Linked DNA regions of Homo sapiens: region 2 is linked to region 1. Evidence: promoter capture Hi-C in human tissues and cell types (Jung and others, 2019). All regions are on one chromosome and are shown on one strand. The core of a region is centred on a gene start or on the middle of the fragment in contact, and the rest is flanking DNA. Distances in the headings are between cores, read along the strand shown. Region 1 holds the start of CDC7 (cell division cycle 7). Region 2 overlaps BTBD8 (BTB domain containing 8).

Region 1 (5,815 bases), core at 60-2,559:
TAGTACCAGGCCATCTCCTGGATGTCAAGGTCTGCTTTTCTCTTTCTCGGTATCCACACTAGAATCCTTGATTTACTCTCTTCCACCTCACTCAATCAAAAACCATTACCTCACAGACTTCCCTTCTATGTGGCACTACCACCCACACATATGCTAGCCCAAAACCTAAGATTCACTGTTGATGATGCCCTTTTCTTCATTTTCCATAGCCAATCACCAAATCCCATTGTCTTCTTTCTTTTATTTCTTCCGCCATTGTTCTGGTCCAAACTACCATTATGTTTCTCCTAAACATAAAGTGCATCCTATTTCCTCTGCTTCCACACTTGCCCCTCTACAATCCATTCTCTTCATAACAGATAGATCATATTACTCCCTTGCTTTAAAACTTTCAAATAGCTTCCAATTGTACTCAGAACAAACACTAAACTTCTTACCCTGGCTTTCAAGGACCCTGGTCTGGCTTCTGCCTAACTCTCCACCTTCATCTATCTGGGACTATCTTGCGGCTCACTCACTATGCTTCCCCCACACTGGCCTTTCCTGCCCTGCCCCTGCAACATACCAAGTTCCTCTTTCTCTCTGCATTTGCCCTATCCTTTCTTTGCCAGGACAACAGTCTCCCTACCAGCTCTTTCTCATCCAGGTCTCTTTGAGAGGGCTTCCCTGACCATCTAGATGCCACCTTCCTGGTCAGTATTTCCCTCAAGTAGTAATCAATGCCGGAAAGAATACTGTTCATTTATTCATCCGTTATTGTCATCGCTTCATTGGAATTTAGCTTCCTACAGGGATGGTGTTTATCTTGCTCACTATGATTCCAGCCCCTAGAAAAACCCACCTACCTCATAGCCAAGGGCTCAGTAAATAGTATACACTGCCTTCCTGCCACTGTGCTAATTTCTACTAACACAGCCACAAACAATCAGCAATTACATTTTCTGCTTGTTTTTAACGGGGAAGTAGGGCACTCAACGAAAAGGAAATAAAAGCAGAGTCAAGAAAGTGCCTTTTATCCATGGAGTGCCCAATGTGTTGTGCGGCCGGCCACGTATATAGGGATGTGTCAGCACCTGAGATTTTTCCTTCTCTGAGCTAGCTTCTTTCCTGGAAATCATGCTGGGCCCTTAGCCTTATGGTTCACCCTGTTTTTTAAGATCATCCACGGGCTTCATTCCCGTAACCGCTCTTCTAGCTGGCCAAGGCGGCGGGAAGAAACCCCACCCTCTTGCGCAAACGCCCAGTAGCGGAATCCGCGGGGTCGAGGGCTTTAGTGTGCGCATGTGCAACCAGAGCGGCGGCGGGAAGTGTTGCGCAGGCGCATCCGATCGACTCGGTAGGTGGGGATCTCTTGGAGACGGCGACCCAGGCATCTGGGGAGCCACAGAAGTCGTACTCCCTTAAACCGTGAGTTTCCGACGGTTTGTTCCATGGCGCGGGATTGTGAGGGATTAGGAACGAATTCTGGATCGTGACTTCGGTTTTCTCGCCGTGCAGTTCCTTTTCCCGCCCCCCTTCGGATCCCTCCGACCTGCGGCGGGAAAGTCGCGCGCCTGCGCACTAAGCATCTGGTTCGGTCTCTGGCCCGAGGGAAGCCGGTCCTTCCCGGCTGAGCTCGCGGCCAGCGCTGGCCGGCGGATTCCCATTCATTCACCCTTCTCCTCCTCCGCCCAGTACTCGTGGCCAGGGTCGTATCAGTTCTCCGTCAACTTGCTTGGGGCCTTGGACGAGCCTCCTGGCGCTTCCTGTCAGTGGCGAAAAGGTTTTCTCCCTCAGTTCTTTTCCTGACTTCAAACCGCCCCCGGCGCTCGGCCCCTCCCCCACGCGGTCCCGCTGGCTGTGCCGGACTGGCAGCCTCGCCGTTTCCCACTGCGCCTGCTGCTGCGCGGGTGCCCAAGCCGGGAAATTCTCCCTGCAGCCCCCTGCCGGTGTTTCTGATAGGTGAAAATAAAGCACATGGAATTCCTTAGACAAGGCCACAGTATGCCCTACTGTGGAGGTTTGGACACATCGTGCGTTTGAAAATGTTTGCCCCTTTGGGGGGCAGTAGCATGTTTTTAGTGCGTGGTTTAGCGAGTGATCTAAATTTCTCTAGTGTTCTAATTTTCACAGCTGCTTTGCTCCCCCTGTGGATGTAACCCCTTAGCTGGCATTTTGCATCTCAATTGGCTTGTGATGGAGGCGTCTTTGGGGATTCAGATGGATGAGCCAATGGCTTTTTCTCCCCAGCGTGACCGGTTTCAGGCTGAAGGCTCTTTAAAAAAAAACGAGCAGAATTTTAAACTTGCAGGTACGTGTTTAAATCCAAAGATGTACAGTTATAAAGATTTTTCAGGCAACAATTCTGTGTTTTCAATTCCTCTCAAAAAATAAGATTGAATCTTATAAAGTGAATTGTATGTTTCTATAGGACAGTGTTAAAACAGAGCTTCGTATGATCTAAATGTAGGACTGAATTGCGATTTGGAAGACTGTAATACAACCTGTTTTACGGTTGAAGTTGCTATGGTCTCAGTATTGGTAATTAAGAATGCAGAAATTTGATGATGCCCAAATTAAATTTCTCTTTTGTATCTGTGTTCTTATCTCTACTCACCACATTGCCTTAAGCTTAAATGTAGAAATTGACACTGGAGATCATCACTTAAGTATTCAAAAGCAGAACTCACAGACAAAAAAATATGAAATGTTTGTAGCAATAATAAAGCACCATATCTCAGTGTACAGCATGAAATGTTCTTTGACCGTAAACCAGACCTTAGGGTGAATAAGACAGGGTCAAGCAGTGCCTGCTCTTGTACACTCGCATGTGTACCTTCATTTCTGCTCTGGCACAGGACCTGGGACATAGTAGGTATTTGTTAATAATAAATATTTGTTAAATAGAGGAATTCTAGTTGACTGTATTTTTTTTTTTCTGAAAGGGTAGCCAGATCATCTTTCCCATCTTTGTCTTAAGTGAATTCTGTGCTTGTCTAAAAGATACTTATTTTGACCTTTTGTCCATATATTCTTTATAACCCCACCCTAGAAAAATATGACATCACATACTTTCTGCTTTGATGGAAGTCAGTTATCCCACTTACCTAAACTTGAAACTTTAATCTTCAGCTGATGCTTTTTATTTGTTCCCCATATCGTCACCTAGCTTTATTTCTTTTTAGTAAGTATGGCATTGTGTCTTCTTTCCATTCCCATTTCCACCACATTAATTAATTTCCTTACACTTTGTTCCTGATTTACAACAGTTTCTCACCTATGCTGCCTGCTTGCACTTTTCCATTCTTCAGTTCATCTTGTATGTTGGTGCTAGAATAATCTTAAAATGCCACTTTCATCCAGTTTCATGGATACTGTTCCTCTTCCTTTCCATTTTTCCAGCAGTTAGCTGTTTTTTTAGTTCATCTTTCCCTTACTAGTCACTGGACACATAACACAGTAACACAGTCATTGTAGTATTCTTTTTCTATTGCTTAGGACTCTGCATTTTGTCTCCACTGTAAACCCCTTGGCGGCAGTATCTCCTCTGGTTTCTAAAGTATGTTGTGACTTCAGCAGAGTATCTGAATGGATGACTCTGAATTGGTTCTAGCATCATGTTTAGGAGAATGCCACTATTCTAATATTCTGAAAATCTGCTGGGAAGTAATGAATGGGGTGAATTTTATTACGGATTTCAAAAGTTTTGTAGCGTTTATGTAACAGAACATTGGACATTATAATATGATAAATTATAAAACGTGCTAAAACTTTACTCTTATGGTTCTTTTTTAAATATGATCTTAATAACAGCTAAAGTTATATAAACATAACTTCAATAGGGAGCAAAGCTGATGAGGTCCAGGCACATAACAGTCTAGTAATCTAATTGGGAAAGTAAATCAAATTAGATCATGAGACAGGTATATGCCTGCACCTCATCAACTTTACTCCTTATTGAAGTTATATTTTTGATTGGATGTTTTATATATCTTAGCATTCCCAGAGCTTAACAGTGTCCAGCACATAGTAGGTGCTTGAAAATATTTGAATGAATGATTTAATGTAAGGATATAAAGTAAAATACTTAGTGTAATGGATGAATAGCATGTCTCTTTATTTTGAGATATTTGTCAGATTTTTATAACATTTTTCTGATAAACATGATTATTGAAATTTTTGAAGTAAAGAAAGCCAAAATAAAGTCTTTTCCCATTATTGAAATATTGCCACTGTTGACATTTTGTTATATTCCTTTAGCCTTTCTAGGCATACATAGGTACATTTTTTAGAAACTAAATTGGGATCTTGTTTTGTTTTTGTTTTTGAAAAGAGAACCAGAATATGGGATCTTATTTCTGATCTCCATTTTTTTTAATATATATCTTGAATATTGCTCATGTAGTAAATATTCTACAACTGGATTTAAGGTCCATTGCATATTATATTATAATATATTCAATCACCTTTTACTATTGACCCTATAGATTGTTTCTATTTTTTCCTATTAAGAAAAATGCTGTAATGCACAAACTATCTGGCATAATATTGGTCAAATGTTTATTCTTTCACTGTTTTGGCAAGCTTTTTTTTTTTTTTTTGAGACATGGTCTCTCTGTCACACCACTGTCACTGGAGTGCAGTGGTGCAATTACAGCTCACTGCAGCCTTAACTCCTGCACTCAAGCAATCCTACCCCCTCAGCCTCCTGAGTAGCTTGGATTACAGGCATGTGCCGCTACACTCAGCTAATTTTAAATATTTTTTTTAGAAACAGGATCTTGCTATGTTGCCCAGGCTGGTCTCAAACTCCTGGCCTCAAGTGATCCCCTCCTATCTTGGCCTCCCAATGCACTGGGATTACAGGTGTGAGCCACCATGCCTGGCCAGTAAGCTTTTATTTTTTTTTAAGTATCTACTATATGCCAAGTTTTAATAAGTGAGAAAGATCTGTTCAGTGAAAGAATGATGTATAAACTCTATATTGAAAGTCTCCTCCATACTGGTGAACTCTACTGGAAGGAAGGCTTGCTTCATTCTGTTTGCTACAATGACACCCTTAGCCATGCTTCTAAAATGGGCTATGGGTACCATCTTTGTTTGCCTGGGACAGATCTAGCTTACGGCTATTGTCACAATGTAATTATTATTCCTGCTGCCTTTTCACTCAAGAGTGTCCCAGTTTGGGCTTATATTATGTATTATCCCCTAGTTCCAGGAGGTATAAACCAGAGAGTACATGAAGCCCCAGAATAACCATGACTATATGCCTAGAGTGTCAGTTTTAATCCATGACAAGATATTGAAAACGTTTCATTTATGTGATGAATATTTATTGTCTGTTATATACATGTACTTTTTTAGGTGCTAGGGATAAATCAAACCATAAAACAGAAATTAACACTGTGGTAGTTAGACAATAGACAGAGAGTAAACAAAAGAAGTAAATACTGTGCTCAAAAGTGATTAATGTTACTAAGAAAATGTAAAAGGGAAGGGGAGATAGGAAGTATTGGGGAAGGAGATTGTAATTTTAGTGAGTATGGTTGCTCATAGCCTTCTGTAACATTTGAGCTAAGACTTCAAGGTGGTGAAGGAGTGACCTGTGCAGATATTTGGGGAAGAGCATTCCAAACAGAGGAAACGGCAAGTACAAAGACCCTGAAACGGCAAGTACAAAGACCCTGAGATGGGAGTGTGCCTAGCATTCAAGAATAGCAAGGAGGTCATTGTGGCTAGAATGGGGAAGGTAATTGGAATGAAGTCAAAGAGAGATGTAAAGAGGCTTTCTAATGGAGTGAGATGTGAAACCATTAGAGGTTTTGAGCACAATAGT
Region 2 (5,891 bases), core at 605-3,104, 670 kb after region 1:
TAAATGTATGAATCTTCTCTGTGAGATTGTACAGTTCTTATTTATTAATTTTAATAACATAAAACCTAGGGGCCAGAGAATAAGATAGAAAATGAGGTTCTTTTAAAAAAATTCTAAAATATAATAGGGAGTTGTTTTGTATACTAGATTGGTTTCAGGTTTATTAAGTTATTTCCATCAAAATATAACCTTTTTTCTACTGACATACTATTTTTCCTTTACTTCTAAGGTAATAATAATGTTCCTTATAAAAACAAATTGCTGTTTCTTTCTACAGCTGCATTTGACAAAGGTGATGATCGAAGACTTGGCAAAAAGCCTATATTCAGTAGCTCGCAGGTAAACTTTCTAAATTTTATAGGTACAAATGAAAAAGATAACAAATTATTTAAAGCTTATTATTTTATATTTCAGAAAAAGTTTTAAAAATCTATTCATTAATTGAAGCTATTTCTTAATGGAAAATTTTTCTTTTTCTAAATCAAGTGAACATTTAATAAATGTTTTAAAGTGAATTTTTTATATCCAGTTGGCACTGGAAGTATCTACCTTTTTCATTTCCTTGAAAACCTTTTTGGCAGCTAACGTATTAGAGCTATTTCAGTCTATTAGAAGTTGTTTAGAACTCTAGACCTAATTCAATGTCTGTTTTTCTAATTAGCCTACTTCTTAAAAAAGAAGATTTTAGGCTAGGCATGGTGGCTCACGCCTGTAATCCCAGCACTTTGGGAGGCCGAGGCGGATGGATCACCTGAGGTCAGGAGTTCGAGAGCAGCCAGGCCAACATGGTGAAACCCCATCTTTACTAAATACACAAAAATTAGCCAGGCATGGTGGTGCACACCTGTAATCCCAGCTACTCGGGAGGCTGAGGGAGGAGAATTGCTTGTACCCGGGAGGCAGAGGTTGCAGTGTGATGAGATTGCACCATTGCACTCCAGCCTGGGTGACAAGAGCGAAACTCCATCTCAAACAAAAAAAAAGATTTTAATTCACATAATGTATTTTTGGTGTTTTTGAAAAAAGCAATTAGTACTAAGAGTACAACTGTGTTTTACTTTAAAAGTTACTTGGTATACTTTTATGAGGTATCTAAAGTAGTTGAATTCTTAGAAGGTAGTATTGTGGTTGCTGAAAACTAGAGGGAGGGAGAAAGGGGGAGTTGTTCAATGAGTACAGAGTTTCCATTTTGCAAGATGAAAAGTTTTCTGTTGTGCAACGAAGTGCATGCAGCTAACATTACTACACTGTTACTGAAGTGTATTAAAGAGTACTTAAGTGTATTAAATGGTTAAGATGGTAGATTTCATGTTTTGTGTGTTGTTTGTTTGTTTTTGACCACCCACAAGGTTATTTGGTGTTTTTCTTATAACCTGAAATAAATTTGTCTTCCCAAAAATGTTATTAATTATGGTTAGGGTTCCTAGCTGACTTACAGATGTTCACTTAACCAATAATATATTCAAAGTACAAAATTATTCTAACCTCTGTGTGGTACAATGATAGACATACATTGAGAGTTCCAGTTTGGAATGCAATGAACGTATTGCCCTAGCAGAGTGGAATAGGAAATCCTTTTTTCTTCCTCATCAGCCAGTTGATAGGAACTAATGCAGCTCCAAGCCACAACTGAGAGTTGTCATGGCTTGAGGAAGAGGTCAAGCTCCAAATGTCTTGAGTGAGAAACTGGGAGACTGGAGTTTTTGCCAATTAACCTCTTAGGATTGTTTCCAAAGTGGGTTTCACAAGATACGAGCTCCATCTAGCATCAACTATAAGTTGGAGAGTAGCTACACACCATAGCTCCTCTTTTTATTTTTTGAGACGGAGTTTCGCTCTTGTTGCCCAGGCTGGAGTGCAATGGCATGATCTCGGCTCACCACAACCTCCGCCTCCCAGGTTCAAGCAGTTCTCCTCCCTCAGCCTCCCAAATAGCTGGGATTACAGGAATGTGCCACCATGCCTGCCTAATTTTGTATTTTTAGTAGAGATGGGGTTTCTCCATGTTGTTCAGGCTGGTCTCGAACTCCCGACCTCAGGTGATCTGCCCGCCTCGGCCTCCCAAAGTCCTGGGATTGCAGGCGTGAGCCACCACGCCCAACCCCATAGCAACTCTTTATAGACCGACGATGCATATTATACCTTGAAAGTGCTGAGAAACACTAAAGAATACTTTTGAATTGTTGCATCCAAAATTTTCCCCAATGTTATAGCTATGGAATACGACTAGGGTCCCGACAACCCTTTTAAAGCATATTATACGATTCCACAGAACATACTCTAGGAAATGGTGCACTAGGACATTTTTTTCTGTGTTCCCTGTTATCCCCGTGTTTTTTAAAGGCCCCCAGGAATTAGCCTACTTGCCTTCCTATCCCCTGCTACTCACCAGGCTTTTCTGCCTTCCTTGCCTTACTGCAGAATAGAACAAAGTTTCATTATTTTTCCTCATCCTCCTGACTTTGTGGTTGTCTAAGTCTTTTTTCTGTTAAGAACAATGGGAAGGAAGGAAGTTTCCCCCAGAAAGACAGTGATATGCTGAAATGGATGCTGGACACAAAATCAAAAGAGTTCAAATTTTGGCTTTGCATTTATTATGTGTCATCTGTGAGTCTTAGTTTGCTTATTTATAAAATGGAGTAATAAAACCTAGCAGGATTATTGTGAAAATTAGGTGAAATAATTTATGTGCAATTATCTGGTATGTAGTAAGTGCTCAATAAATGTGGAGCAAATAAATGTGTTTTCCAAACAGGGATGAGCTATCTAGGAGGTGGGAGAAAGTTAATCAGATAAGACAGGGAAAGAGGTTTTTTGTTTGTTTGTTTTGTTGTGGTGGTGGTTGTTGTTGCCTGCTTCATTTTTCCTTCATAGAGCGATTTAAGAAGAATGCTTAGTACCAAAATACTTAAGGATAAAATATATGATATCTGGGATTTGCTTCAAAATAAAATGGGGGTGGGTGTGTATGAAATAAAATTGGAATTAATAATGAATTAATAATTTTTAGAGCTGGCTATTAGGTACGTGAGGATTCATTATACTCTTCTGTCCTCTTATGATTATGTTTAATTTTTCCTATTTTTTGAGACAGGGTCTCACTCTGTCACCCAGGCTGGAGTGGAGTGACACAATCACAACTCACTGCAGCCCTGACCTTCTGGGCTCAAGGGATCCTTCCACCTCTGCTTCCTGAATAGCAGGCATAGGCCCAAGCTACCATGCCTGGCTAATGTTTGTATTTTTTTTTGTAGAGGCGGGGTTTTGCCATGTTGCCTAGGCTGGTCTCAAACTCCTGGGCTCAAGCAATCCGCACCTGGCCTATTGTGAAATTTTTCAAGGCATACAGCTATACCATATACTATATAGATTTCACCCATAGCGTAATACTTCAAGATGCATAAATTCAAGGATAGAATAAATTAAGTAGATTCAGTGTTAAGGGTGGGAAGGAGTTCTAAAAGCAGAAGTCAGCCTGGTTTTAGGTATTAAAAATAGAGAAATGTTTTTTTTTTGAGCTAAGATTTGAGCAAGAAAACAAAAAATGAGGACCAAGCCTATCTGAACGTTTTAAATGTTAGAATCCTAGAAGACTGCTGTGAATAGGACCAGTCTCTACGCTGTGGACAGGCATAAGCTGAGACCCAAAGCTGTTAATAATTTCTGAAATGTCCCAGGCTGGTTAGAAGCAAAACTAGGACAAGAATCTAGTGGTTGTTTTATCACCGTGCTTTCCTTTTTTCTAAATTTAACCAAGTTATTTATTGTGTATTTTTTTGTGTGCACCCACATTCATATATGTTATTTTATCTTTGACAGCTTTTAATGTAATTGGAAGCTTTTCATATTTAAAAATAGACCTTAAACTGCATATCAAAATATGCAATATATGCCCAGCATTAACAACATTGATTACGTTTTTTGTTTGTTTGTTTTTTGAGTATCCAATATGTGACATGGTGCCGAGGGATACAAAAGATGAAGAGAGCACAGGCTCTGCCTCAGACCTCTACAATCTCATACAGCTTCCAAAGGAAAAAAAAAACCGTTTGCATACTTACATAAAGAATGACAATAGGACGGGCGCGGTGGCTCACACCTGTAATCCCAGCACTTTAGGAGGCTGAGGTGGGTGGATCACGAGGTCAAGAGATCAAGACCATCCTGGCCAACATGGTGAAACCCCGTCTCTACTAAAAATACAAAAATTAGCTGGGCATGGTGGCGCATGCCTGTAGTCCCAGCTACTCGGGAGGCTGAGGCAGGGGAATTGCTTGAACCTGGGAGGCGGAGGTTGCAGTGAGCTGAAATCGTGCCACTGTACTCCAGCCTGGCAACAGAGCAAGACTCCATCTCAAAAAAAAAAAAAAAAAAAAAAGAATGACAATATTGGCCGGGCACAGTGGCTCATGCCTGTGATCCTAGCACTTTGGGAGGCCGAGGCGGGTGGATTGCCTGAGCTCAGGAGTTCAAGATCAGCCTGGGCAACACGGTGAAACCCTCTCTCTACTAAAATACAAAAAAATTAGCCAAGTGTGGTGGCATGTGCCTATAGTCCCAGCTACTCAGGAGGCTGAGGCAGGAGATTGCTTGAACCCAGGAGGCAGAAGTTGCAGTGAGCCAAGACTGGGCCACTGCACTCCAGCCTGGGTGACAGAGCAAGACTCTGTCTCAAAAAAGAAAGAAAAAAGAAAGAAAAAAAAGAATGACAATATGATCTTAAAATATTATCCTAGAATTTCTACCAACTTAAAAATTTTCTTTGTTCCCTTTCATATCAAGGTTGGTTCTAAGGAAAATGATGAAGTAGGTATGTTTATCTTCAGTGCCATTTTATTTGTCCCTTTTTAGCCTATTTCAGCTATTTTTAGGATCCCTTTTCCTTCGCTTCCTATAGCCAGCCAGTGCTATACTAGTATCTTATTTGTCCAAAAACCAAGCTTTGCAGATGTAGTGTATTGATGTGCTGTGCTTCCTAGGAGCTTTTAAAAAAAAATTTTTTTAAATAAGGACTCCAAGAAGTAAAGGATTCTTCCCACAGAGGATTAAGTCTTTAATGATAAAATTTCTGGCACTTGGAATAAGGTTGAAGAGAGAATTTTTATTGAAAATCTTTATAATGTCCCTCAAATTATGCTATATAGATGACTTCGGTGTGAGGTTAAAAAATGAGCTCAAGTCCTGATTCCATCCCTCATCAGCCTGAGACCTGGGGTAAATCACATACCTACTTTAATCCTCAATTTCTTGTCTAAGAAATAGAAACAGCCACAGGAGCTAGTTCATGGGACTGTTGTGAGGATTAAGTGGGATGATGTATACAAAAGATGTAGTATAAAACATGGGAGTAAGCCTTCTAAAAAATCATGGATATTATCATTCCTCAGGGCATCCTGAATCTTTATAGACATTAATCTCTATCAAAACTTCATACATTAAAAAAGCCTTCCTTTTATTTATTTATTTACTTTAATAGATAGAATAGCATGCCTTTAAAATAAACACTTATGCTGTATTTCAGATTTGATTACGGTAATCTAAGACAAAGTTTTGATCCAAATGATCAAAGACAGTTCAAGCTTTGACCTTAAATCATAATATGAACTTTTCTATTTTTTTTCTTTGAAAGACTGGCTTTTGGAAACATAAAATATTATATGTTAAAGATTTCAGTCAAATTACAAAGTATTTTTTTTCTTTTTTATAGCAAAGGAAACAAGTTTCTGACTCTGGTGATATAAAAATCAAATCTTGGAGGGGAAATAACAAGAAAGAGTGTTGGAGTTATCTCTCTACTAATAAAAAGATGAAATCTGATGGATTAGGAGCATCTGGACATTCGTCAAGTACCAATAGAAATAGTATAAATAAAACTCTGAAGCAAGATGATG

What was found. The method cuts DNA at HindIII sites, captures the fragments that hold promoters and counts their contacts. A contact is called where the count stands out against the background at its distance.
Region 2: a fragment that was not itself captured here is called in contact with the fragment with the promoter of CDC7 in region 1 in 1 of the 25 tissues and cell types used here (dorsolateral prefrontal cortex).

Annotation. Positions count from the first base shown.
Region 1 is chr1:91,499,542-91,505,356 of GRCh38, forward strand. CDC7 (cell division cycle 7) reads left to right here and starts at 1,310. Exons shown (of 12, transcript NM_003503.4): 1 at 1,310-1,407; 2 at 2,113-2,290. The coding sequence starts at 2,176. It overlaps LOC105378856 (a long non-coding RNA gene), which reads right to left and starts at 1,307. Exons shown (of 3, transcript XR_947599.4): 1 at 1-1,307. RefSeq lists an enhancer at 1,952-2,151. The HindIII fragment of the contact is 7,471 bases long and covers 1-3,586 here.
Region 2 is chr1:92,171,122-92,177,012 of GRCh38, forward strand. BTBD8 (BTB domain containing 8) reads left to right here. Exons shown (of 18, transcript NM_001376131.1): 13 at 278-339; 14 at 5,708-5,891. Among named protein-coding and RNA genes, the nearest start is that of C1orf146, 44 kb to the right of the region's middle. The HindIII fragment of the contact is 5,069 bases long and covers 1-4,389 here.